Regions from separate parts of the Homo sapiens genome. Here region 1 is linked to region 2. The links are contacts of gene promoters, found by promoter capture Hi-C in blood cells and fetal thymus (Javierre and others, 2016). All regions are on one chromosome and are shown on one strand. Each heading gives the region's core, a stretch centred on a gene start or on the middle of the fragment in contact. The rest is flanking DNA. Distances are from core to core; before and after follow the strand shown.

Region 1 (5,824 bases), core at 936-3,435, 44 kb before region 2:
CACTCAAGTTAACAAGGTGTTTGCTGAAAGGGCTGAGTGCTGGGGAGGGGGCCATCTGTGCTGGGCACCTCCAGACTGCCTTGGCGGCTGAGTGGCAGAGGAGGGGAGGGGAATAGGCCCGCGGTGTTTTCCATTTCCCTCCACAGAGTTGCACGGGAATTTTTCTGAGGGAACCGTGGCTGGCAGGAGCTGCCTTCAGAAGGGGCCAGGGGGCCCGGTCCTCACTCAGCTCCTCCTCTTATAGACCCTGAGCAGCAGCAGAGTGAGTCTACTGGCTCTTGTGGGAGTACTGTGGTGCCCCTTAATTCTTCAGGCCTCAGGGAACCCCCAAATTAGTGTCCCATTCCAGGGAGCATACCGGCGTCCCTCCCTCCTTCCCTGCAAGAGGCACAGCCATCACCAAAGCCTCCCCCACCAGCTGCCCTGGCTGCCCCACAGGAGGGAGGAAATGCGATAACGGATAACTACAGACTGAAAAGGGTAGCGGGGAGAAAGACCAGTGTGGGACAGATACGCTGCACCCCACCAACCCAGCCGGCCCACAGGGAAAAGCCCTCCCTTGAAAGACTGGGAAAGAGTCGGAAAATAGATTTTTGTTTTTCCACCGTGTGCCAGGTATTTATAGACCAGGCCGCAGCGGGAGTTTCCATCCGGGTCACCCAGAGAGAACTGGACCAAGAGCTTCTCCAGACCCAACCTGGAGCGTTTCTAGGTTGGGTCAAACTGCCCTGTTTGAAGCCCCAGCAAGCTGGGGTGGGTCTGGGGGCTCGGGTGGGAAGAGAGGCAGAGCTGAGGGAGAGGAGGGGGTGCAGCCCTCTGGGCAGAGGCTGCTCGCTGACATGGCAAGGGCAGGATCAATGTAAATCAATATTAATTGATGACGCTGCCTGTGACGAAGGTGATGGAGCCTGGGCTGGAAATAGGACGCTCATCTCTGCCATGCCCGTAGCTAATTGGGCTCATTTCTCACCCTGGGCAGCTCAGCCCTGCTCTGGTCTTAGTGGCATCTTCATCTGCTCAGTCAGAGCTCAGATAACTTGCACACAAGCCTCCTGCACCCCTCGGCTCAGAGGGGTCCTCTCCGGGTGTTCCATAGAGCACTGTGCTCAGGAGTCCAGCTGCACCACAGGCAGACACTTATCTGGTCTGCCTCTCTGGGGAAGGGGTCTAGCCAACTCTGAAGGGGATGTCTACTCGGTAGCTAAGCTTTGGTGGAGGGACCCCAAACAACCACCCTGTGTCCCATGTGATGAGGGGCTGCACGAGATCTGGAGCCTCCCGCCCTGGTCCACCCCGGCTTAGTCTAAGAGGCTCTTCCTGTGGGACTTCCCAGGCCCCCAAAGTTGGCAACAGAGGGAGGAGGCTCAAGACAGGCAGCCAATTGGAAGTGGGACTGCTGTGGGCAGGGTGAGGTGGGCAGAGCAGTGGGTTACCTCCGCCTGGAAGCCCTCCACCAGAATGGCGACCAGCAAATTGAAGAGCACGTAGTTGCCGAAGGTCATGAGGGCAATGAAATAAAGGGCCGCCCAGGACGACGTGGAGGCCATACCATTGTAGAGGACTTTGTTCCAGTCCTCCTGGGTCAGGATCTGCGGGCAGAAGACAGGAATCAGGGCCTATACTAGGGGCACCTGACGGCCCCTGTCCACGCCCTGCCCTGTTACCCTCGCACCTGAAAGACAGTGACGATGGCCCAGAGCAAGGAGTCAAAATTCTTCCGGTCTGGCAGGGTGTCCCCATCCCGCTCAGAGGCAAACTTGCAGCCGAAGAGATGCATGCCCAGGATGCTGTGGGCACAAGGGGGCCACAAGCTAGGGATCAGAGCCCAGTGCTCCTCACCCCTCAGGCCCTCCTGCCCCCAGCCTGGCCGGTCTCTCAGCCGGCAAGGTGCCATGCCGCCCTCACCTGAAGATGAAGATGAAGAGCATAAGCAGCATGCAGAAGGTGGCCACGTTGTCCATGGTCTTCATGAGCACCACCAGCTGCCGCTGCAGCGCCGGCAGGAAGCGCACCAGCTTCAGCACACGCATCAGGCGGAAGGTCCGCAGCACCGACAGGCCGCCCCCCTGCTGGCCCACGATCTCCCACACGCTGCAAAGGGGGCAGGCAGCCTGAGCCCCCTGCACCTTCACCCTCTCCCCCTACTCCCTCGGAGAGGACTCAGTAGCACCCAAGGGCCTGGCTGGGTGGGCACGTCGAGAGAAAATGGGGCACAGGTGGGCCCCCAGACCTCTAAGCAGGAGCCTCCAAGATAGTGAGGATTTGGGTGACAGCCCCGGCCCCCTCCGCCCTCTCCTCCCTGCCAGAGATCACATCCTGGCAGTAGACAACTCCCTCCCTAAATCTGGCCAATGCAACTGCATCAAGTTATGGAATATTTGCTTTGTTCTCTTCTAATGAAATCTAAAGCCAATTCCAAAAGCAATAAAGTGGTTCTCCTGGCCCCAGGCCTTGCGGGGACGGAGCACTTTCCCAAGGTCTTGGAAACCCTAAAGCAAGTTGCTGGTGTCTGAGATGATTTCCAAGCACTTTTCGAGCCGGGCAGCTGGCTGGGCCTCATACCTCTTCCAACTCCTCTAAAGCCAATCTCACCCTCGCCCATCCCAGGCCTGGGTGGGGTCAAGGACAAGAGGTAGAAGTGGAGAGAGGAGACTAAAGAGGGGCCTGGGCAATGAAGAGGTGAGCCCAAGGTCAACAGGAGCAAGGTGGGGCCAAGAGAGAGATGGAGGGGGCATGGGGACACAGAGAGCCCCCCACCTAGGAGGAGTGGCAGGTCCTGTGGGGTCAGTGGGGCCTGACTCCAGACCCCTCCACCCCAGGGGAATAGGTGGCATGGCCCCTGGCCCCAAGCCACCCCTGCTACCATTCCTCAACTGAGAGTCAGTGCCGGGGGGTAGTCATACCTGATGACCACAATGACACCATCGAAGATGTTGTAGGGATTCTTGATGTAGCCAAAGGGACCATACACAAGCAGCTTCAGCAGCATCTCCAGGGCAAAGAGGCTGGTGAAGACGATGTTGCTGATTTCTAGGGCGTTGGTAAGCTCCTCGGGCTGCAGGGCAGGGTGGGATGTGAGGCAGCTGGCTTATCACTGAGCCCCTCGATCCAGTCCTCCAAACATGGGACACCAGGGAGAGGAGGAGCAGGAATAGCAAGCTTGTGCGGAGGGGTTGCTGGATGCTCAGGCCCATGGGGAGGACCCTGCCCCAAAGGCTCCAGGAGGAAATGCACCCAGGGGCAGGGGCCCCAGGAAAGGGCCACGTGAAACCCATAGCCCCAGCTCTGGGTCTCAGATTCAGGGGCCACAAACTCAATGGGAGGCCTGTGGTGTGGGTTCCGCCCTATCTCCTGCTGGGAGCTGCATGGCCCATCTTGACCTAGGCTACAATGCAAGCCTAGCGGGCCCAGGCCAGCAGCATGACAATGCTGGCGGATGTCAGAGGGCGATCGCCAAGGCCTCACAGGCACACCCGGTCGTCAAGCCCCACACAACGTCACATGTATTCCACAATTACTCTGTGGACTTGGCAGCTTTCTCTTGGACAACAGTTGGCTACTCTTGCTTCCTTCCAGACACACACACACACACACACACACACACACACACACAGAGAGAGAGAGAGAGAGAAAAATGCACGCATTCCCAGTCACACACATGGTGATAGGCAGAAGGAAGACACGCAGACACCCAGGAAGGGTTGTCACAGTTGAGGAGACACCTGGAGCCTCAGCCTGAGCCCGGGACACCCGGGTTAATCCTCAGCCTATCCTGTCACTCACTCTGTGACCTTCAGCAAGATTCTCAACCTCTCTGGCCAAATGTGAAACACCAGAGGTAATTCCTTTCATGCTCCCTACCCGAGTCTGGGACTGGGACTGAGGATGCACCCTAGAGTCCTCAGAAGGACGAATGACGAACCCTGTCTCATCTGCCATTCCAGCTCACTAGTGACCTCGCTTTCAATATGAAGTGCCTAGCAATGCACCAGGCATTAAAGGAGCTGCAAAAACATGCCAGCCACACGCCCCGCCTCCCAGGAGCTCAGTGTCTGCTAGAAACACGTTGTACACACACAAAACGGCTGAATAACCACAAGAGGCCTTAAATGCTTCAGTGCCAAAATAAATTATCCAGGCAGCAAGTCCGGGAGTTCAGGGGAGAAAAGGTGAGGGGTGAACACACAGAGAAAGGCTTAGTTGGGAGAGAGGCAGCACTTGAATGCCTAAGGGTTTGTGGAGTCTCCCCAGCCAAGGGTCTAGGTGGTGTGGCACGGGGTGGGGGGATCATGAGCAACCTCAGCCTGGTTCTGGTTGAAGAAGGGAGGGGTGTGGCCAGGCAGAGGGCTGGGGAAGCAAGAAGAGATATGGTTGGCTCAATGGACCCCACTGTCCACCTGATGGATGTCTGGACAAACTAGGTGTCTGGCCTGGAGGGCAGAGGCCAAGTCCATAGTAGCTGCTCAAAAAGTATGGGTTAATGAAACATTCAAATGAGGCACTCATTCCATCAGACACCTCTCCTTGCTTCTCACTGTCTCGCTGGCCAGCTGCCCAACCAAGCCTGCAGCCAGGCCTGAGGACACCCAAATGTATCCTAATGGCCCTAGTTTGTGCAGCCAGCTTGGATGGGAGGTGAAAAGACTCGGAACAAGGGGCTTCTGACTAGCAGGTGAGCGGCATTTGGGAGCCTCGGGGACAACAGTTACTCAGAGAGAGATAAACTTTCAGACTGTTCAAAGGCAGGCCTGGGGGCAGAGTCAGGGCCAGCAGGCAGGCAGACAGCCAGCTATGCAGAGGGGGAGTGGCTGTCGTGGGGGCCAGTATGGCATGGAGCCCGTTGCTCCAGCAGATCTCAAGTAAGTCGTAGCTCCGTGGATTGTGAGTGGGGGCACTGCCACCTGACCTGGTTAGCCCGGTCACACAGGGCCATTAGTGTCTCCGGCGTGAGCACAGTACAGGAGGTGGGGCGGGGCCAGGATCAATGCATATAAAGCCCTGGGCTCAGACCCCACCTGGCTAAGTGGATCCCCCCACTCTGTACTTCCAAGTCCGGTCTGCCAGGGAGCGGGAGTCGGCAAACCCTCCTCCCTGTCACTCTGCCACTCGCCGTGTTTTCGGGCCTTGGATTAGATTAAAATGAACATGGACCGCACAGGTATGATGTTCAAAGTCACAGGGCAGGAAGAGCTGGGGTGGGGCCCAATCCCACATCCCTCTGACTCCAAGAATATTAGACAGTCAGGATTCAGAACCAAGCCACGGTGATGGTGAGGGGCTTGTGAATCCAGATACACGGTGGACTGGATACACAACGTGTCTTCTAAAATTATATTCAAATCAACAGAGTTCTAGGAATAAAGACCAACTCGATGTGAAGACACAGCTGAGGTACGCTTATAATGGGCAAATTTCATGGCATATAAACTATACCCCCAAAAAGCTGCTAAAAATAAAAATTAATGAAACGTTCTTTTAAAAGTTGCTGAAAACACAGTAGCTTTTGATGTCATGTATTTACTCAATCAGTGAATTCTAAAAGTCCGACTACTACTGTGCGTGGAGAAGGAGACTGTTCTCTTCACTCCCCGATGTTATCCACGGGGCTCTCAGGAGTCTGTACTGATGGCTTGTGGACACGTGCACACCTCACTCTCCTGCACACCACCGAGAGGCTTATGGAGAAGGATGATGCCAGGCTCCTGAGAAGCCTGCCGTCCCATAAGGCTTGCCTCATTGAACTTTGTCAAGGGCTGTGCCAGCAAAGGCTGGAACCCCTGTTTTGCCCAGCCAAGTGACTCCAGGCCTGGAAAAGCAGGGCAGC
Region 2 (5,560 bases), core at 1-2,500:
AGGTATGGTGACTTCTCGTGGATCAGGCGGTTGGGGACCCTCTGGGGTGTAGATGAAGGATGGCTTCCTTTCCCTCCAGCAGGCATGGGCACTGAACTACTGACCGTCGCACTTCGGTCCTTGTCCCGGGAGGAGCTACCCCTGGCGAGGACTGGTGCATCAGGCAAGCCAGGGGCCTCCACCCACCTTCTCCCAGGCCCCCCAGCACCTGCTCCATTTCACTCAGCACCCCAGTAGGACCCCTGCTCCCAGCCCAACCCACCTTTCTGAACCATGGGGGAGACTGTGGCCTTTGTGCTCCCCCTTATGTTTTTTGGGGGGTGAGGAGAGGTGGCTCATTGGGGGCTCCTTGCCAGGTTAGTCTCCCCCAACCTCCTGGGCCTGGCGGTGGGAAGGATGGCTGTGAGGTCAGGGCGGGTCACAATGGGCAGAATGGTTCTTGGGGCTCCATTCTTACCCCTCCCCAGGCCCCTCCCCCGGCCCTTCCTGGAGCAGCTGCTTGGAGGCATCTCTCTGGCAGGCCTGGGTGTGGCCCCACTGGAAGGCAGCCTACTGTTGGTGGCTGGACAGGCCAAGATCAGTAGGGTCTGGGACTCGACCAGGTGAGGGACAAACAGAGGAAACCAGACATGGGGACTCCCTCACTCAGCGCCCACCTGCTGGGACTCCTGTGGGGCCAGGTCCTGGGCCAGACTCCAGGACACCTAGGGAATCAGAGACCTCAGGGAGTTCAGCCTGGAAGTGGGACTGCAGGCAGACCTAAATAACGAAAGGTCCATGCAGCAATAAAGGACTGTGACAGGGCACAGGGTACTATTGGAGAAAGGCCCTTGACCCAGCATCCAGCACTGGGGTGCAAGGAAGGCTTCCTGGAAGCAGTGTCAGAACAGTCCCTGAGGAGCTGGCACTGCACTGGAAGGAAGGGGAGAGGAGGGAAGGGATGAGGACGGGAGAGGAGGGGAGGAGGGCCTTACAGCCAGAGCCAGGTCTCAGGAGCAGACCGGAGGTGGGGTGGGGGAAGGGCCAGGCATGCAGGGGTGGTCCAGACTGGCACTGGGGACCGGTGTCCGGAAGACCCTCCACTGGGCCCGCAGGCAGGCGCAGGGAGTGCCCTAGGGGCCCGCTCGCCCGCCCGTACCTGCGGCTCGCGGCGAGGCCTGCACCGGCGCGGGGCAGCAGAAGGACGCGGCCCAACCAGGCCCGCGCGCCCAGCATGGCTGCTCGGGGCCGTGGGCCCGGCCGCTGAGGACAGGAAGGGAAGTCAGGAGGCTGCGAGGGGCGGGCCGGGCACCTACGGAGCCGCGGGCGGGTCTTCGCCGGGACTTGGGACAGTGTGGCTGGTCTCCGAGCGTCGCCCTGCGGCGGAGCGCAGAATTGCAGATCAGGCACCCGAGCCTTGGGAGGACCCATTCTGTGCATAAAACTGGGCTCTGCCCCTGCCTGGGGAGGACAGCCCTTCTCAAGGGAATAGGGAGAGTTGTGGGATCTAGGGCTGGGAGATGCTAGGGACATGGGATGCCAGAGCTTCAGCTCATTTTGTCCAACCCCTGCCCATTTTACAAATGAGAAATGAGATCCAAGGCGAAGGCGTACCTTGGCCAGGTCCACCAGCTAACAAGGTTTGCTTTTTGCAGCCTCCTCGTCTCTAGGTCCTACTCAAATCCTACCCACTCCAGGAAGTCTTCCTTAAATAATACTGATGAGCCCATTTTATGTCTCATAGGTTACACATGGCCTCATTGGCTACATTCAGCCAATATTTATTAAGTGCCTGCCGCCTGCCACTCTGCAAGGCACTGAGTATACAATGGTGGGCAGAGAGAAACAAGGCTCCTGCCCTCACATGGCTCACAGTCTGTTGAGAGCGGCAGATGCTAATTCGACAGCCATACCGATAAACACCCACGTGACAAGTCCGTGAGGGTATAACGTAACAAGTGACCTGATCTGGTGGAAGGGGCAAAGGATGAAGGCTTCCCTGAGGAAATCACATTTGTGAAGCCATGGAGAACGAGAGAAAGGAACTTGGAGGGTGCTCAGGGGGAGTGCTGGGGAAGGAGGCAGAGGTACAGTTTGTGCAAAGGTCCCGTGGCTTGTCAGTGAGTCCGGGCTGAGCAACTGCAGAAAGAGGGAAGACAGGCAGTAGATGAGGGCAGAGGCAAGATCTTGGAGACACTCGTGAACTGTAAGAAGGGGATTTTTATTTTTTGAGACAGAGTCTCGCTCTGTCACCCAGGCTGGAGTGCAGTGGTGTGATCTCGGCTCACTGCAACCTCCGCATCCTGGGTTCAAGGCTGGTCTCGAACTCCTGACCTCAGGTGATCCATCTGCCTTGGCCTCCCAAAGTGCTGGGATTACAGGCATGAGCCACCATACCCGACCCCATTTTTTTTTAGCCAGAGTCTCACTCTGTTGCCCAGGCTGGAGTGCAGTGGATCTTGGCTCTCTGCAACCTCCACCTCCTAGGTTTAAGCGATTCTTGTGCCTCAGCCTTCCAAGTAGCTGGGACTACAGGAGCGCGCCACCATGCCCAGCTAATTTTTGTATTTTTAGTAGAGACGGGGTTTCGCCATGTTGCCTAGGCTGGTCTCAAACTCCTGACCTCAAGCGATCCATCTGCCTCAGCCTCCGAAGTGCTGGGATTACAGGTGTGAGCCACCGTGCCTGGCCAGAGAAGGGGATTTTTGATGACAGTAGAAGCAAGCTATTGAAAGGCTTTAGTCAGGAGGGTTACCAGTTAGATCTGCGTTTTGGAAAGATCCCACCAGCTTCCCAGTGGAGAATGAACTGGAAAGGGGCAAGAGTGAAAGCAGGGGCAGATAGGAGGCTATAGCAGCACCCAGGGGGAGATGGGGGAGCAGAGATGCAGAGAAAGGGATGGGCTGGAAGTCGGTCAAGGAGGAAACGTCGTCAGGATGGGCGGCGACAAAGAAGGCGGTGTCCAGGGTGACTTGCAAGGTGGGGCCGTTCCCTCAAGAGAGGGCATGGGGTGGGGGTGGGGGGACAACTCATGGGGTTCATTGTGGGACCTGTGGGTTTGAGATGTGCACATGGAGGCAGAGATGACACTGCTTGGAGGACAGAGGAGAGGCTTCAGGAGAGAGGATTGGGGGTCTTGACTGTTGAGACCATGTGGGTGTGGAGCTGATCCAGGGAGACCATGCAGAGGAGCAGAGAAGAGGGCTCAGGTCCAGGCTTAAGTAAGCCTGTGAAAGACACAGATGGAGGCAGGGCATGGTGGCTCACGCCTGTAATCCCAGCACTTTGGGAGGCCGAGGAGGGTGGATCACCTGAGGTCAGGAGTTTTAGACCAACCTGACCAACATGGAGAAACCCCCATCTCTACTAAAAATACAAAATTAGCCGGGCATGGTGGCGCATGCCTGTAATCCTTGCTACTCGGGAGGCTGAGGCAGGAGAATCGCTTGAACCCGGGAGGCGGAGGTTGCGGTGAGCCGAGATTTCATGATTGCACCCCAGCCTGGGCAACAAGAGCGAAACTCTGTCTCAAAAAAAGAAGAAAGAAAGAAAGAAAGAAAGACACAGAAGGGAAGCAGCCAGGGTGCAAAGGACAGCACCCCAGAGATGAAGGACAGAGTGCCTACATGTCAGACTCCTGAGGGGCCAGCCTGGCTGGGACAGAAAAATGTCCACTGGCTTCAGCAACATGGAGGCCATTGGTGTGCTTAGTGGGCGTCGTTCTAGTGAAGTCAGGCTGAGAGCAGAAGTTGCCGAGTCGGCTGAGGAGGAAGAGGAAAGGGAGGGGAGACAGAGAGAGATGATGGGTGCTTGACATGAGAGGATAGATGGGAAGACACTGTCAAGATGGATGGAGCTAATTAAGACACATTTCGATGGGAAGGATTCGTTTGAGAGAAAGTGGTGGACGCCATCAAGGATAGAAGAGATGGTGGTCCTGGGTGACTCTGAGAATGTGGGGTGTGGCGGGTTGTTGGAAGGGTTGGCTAGCCGGAGGGTCCAGTGGGTGCTCCAAAGAACATGTTCTGGCTAGAAGGAATGAGGTTAAGCTCAGAGAGCCAGAAGCCTGCCTTGAATGTAGAGGAATCTGGGGTGATGACAAACCTCCAAGTGTGACCATGGTGAGGGTCATTGAGAGGTCAAGGGGCCATAAGGTCCTTGGATAATGGAGCGACTTGAAATTGAGGTAAGAGCTGGATGAGAAGACCATGAGCCAAGACCGAAGCATCCCAAAAGTGAGGTGGAGTGGCAGCCCCAGGCAGGGAAGAGACAGAATGACTTATGGCACCAACCTCCTAGCAGGAGGGGTCTTATAAGGAGGGAGGCAGGAAGCAAGGCTGCCAACTTTTTTTGTGGGAAACAAAACAGCTCCCCTTGGGAGTCCTCGGGGGGATCCAGTTTAGAAGAAGAGAGCCTGGGTGGCAGGGCCACAAAGGGTGGATCAGGGGCCAAGAAGGATGGAACATCCCAGGTTTGGGTGCAGCAGAAGATATTAATAGATGGGTGCTGGACTCTGGGTATTGCCTGGCAAAACCAGGAGTGAAAGCCATGATGGGTTCGTGCCTCATGGTCAGTCTTTGAAGAGGGTGGACTCTGAGCTGAATGGACACGCCTGGGGACATCCACATAGTAACCTCACAAGGAAGAAACTTCTGATCCCGTTTGACAAGTAAGGAAACGCAGGCACAGAGACATGGAGAGGGTAAGTAATTTACTCAAGGTCACAGAGCATAACCACTTATTACTAAGTGATTCTTGTTAGGGTCAAACCTTGGAGCAGAACTTTGAACCCTGTAAGTCTGACTCCTGAGCAGGTGTTCTTGTCCATCCTGTTTGTAACTGCATTGTGGGACTCCCTTCCCCTACCCCCACCTCAGGAAGGGGAGTGGCATTGTGCCTCTCCACTCACCGACTCTGGTGGAAGGCCATTTGTCCCTGAAAGGGGGATGGAGGCTGGCTGCAGGCTGCCTGCAGAGCCAGACCCCAAGCACTGAGGACACATCAGTGTCCAGTGGTCCAGTGATCAGGGAGCATTGAGAAGAAAAACAGGCGAGGGTGGTCATAGGGGCCCCTCCTGGATTGAGTACCAGGCCTCACCCCACCCTTGGTTTCCCAGACTCCACATAAACCCCCAGAAGGGGTCCGATTCCTCCTGTGTGGCTAAGACTGAGTTTCTCGCTAGCCTTGGCGAAGCAAGGGAGAGGGCAGAGTTACATTTAAGGTGACTCAGTAAAACAAAGGAGCCTGGGAGCTCCTGCACTTGGCTTCTGCCACAGCCGCATCACGTGCCCCTGGCTTGTCTACCCTGCTGCGCTCGAGCTCCTGGAGGTTGGATCCCTCCAAGGTGAGCCCAGCACTTTGTCCACAGCAGTCAGTCAATATTTGCTGAATTAAATCTGGGGCCCAGCCTGGGATCTCCAGGCCTTGGAGCCAGACTGTCTGACTCTTGAGTTCCAGCCCCGCCCCATGCCAGCTTTGTGACTTTGAGCATGCCATTCAACCTCTCTGAGCCACGGTTTCCTTGCCTGAAAAATGGGAGTAGTGCCGGCTGCAAGGTGAGATACCTGTGCAATCGCACTGC

Evidence for each region. The method cuts DNA at HindIII sites, captures the fragments that hold promoters and counts their contacts. A CHiCAGO score of 5 or more calls a contact.
Region 1: a fragment that was not itself captured here is called in contact with the fragment with the promoter of SPATA20 in region 2 in 1 of 17 cell types (endothelial precursors); the score reaches 5.6 in endothelial precursors.

Annotation. Positions count from the first base shown.
Region 1 is chr17:50,587,702-50,593,525 of GRCh38, reverse strand. CACNA1G (calcium voltage-gated channel subunit alpha1 G) reads right to left here. Exons shown (of 38, transcript NM_018896.5): 10 at 2,904-3,055; 11 at 1,906-2,091; 12 at 1,673-1,787; 13 at 1,434-1,589. Among named protein-coding and RNA genes, the nearest start is that of CACNA1G-AS1, 29 kb to the right of the region's middle. RefSeq lists an enhancer at 1-632. The HindIII fragment of the contact is 1,953 bases long and covers 1,209-3,161 here.
Region 2 is chr17:50,542,864-50,548,423 of GRCh38, reverse strand. SPATA20 (spermatogenesis associated 20) reads right to left here and starts at 1,250. Exons shown (of 17, transcript NM_022827.4): 1 at 1,139-1,250; 2 at 657-704; 3 at 1-141. The coding sequence starts at 1,215. EPN3 (epsin 3) reads right to left here. Exons shown (of 10, transcript NM_017957.3): 10 at 4,674-5,560. RefSeq lists a silencer at 971-1,240 and an enhancer at 4,868-5,368. The HindIII fragment of the contact is 19,639 bases long and covers 1-5,560 here.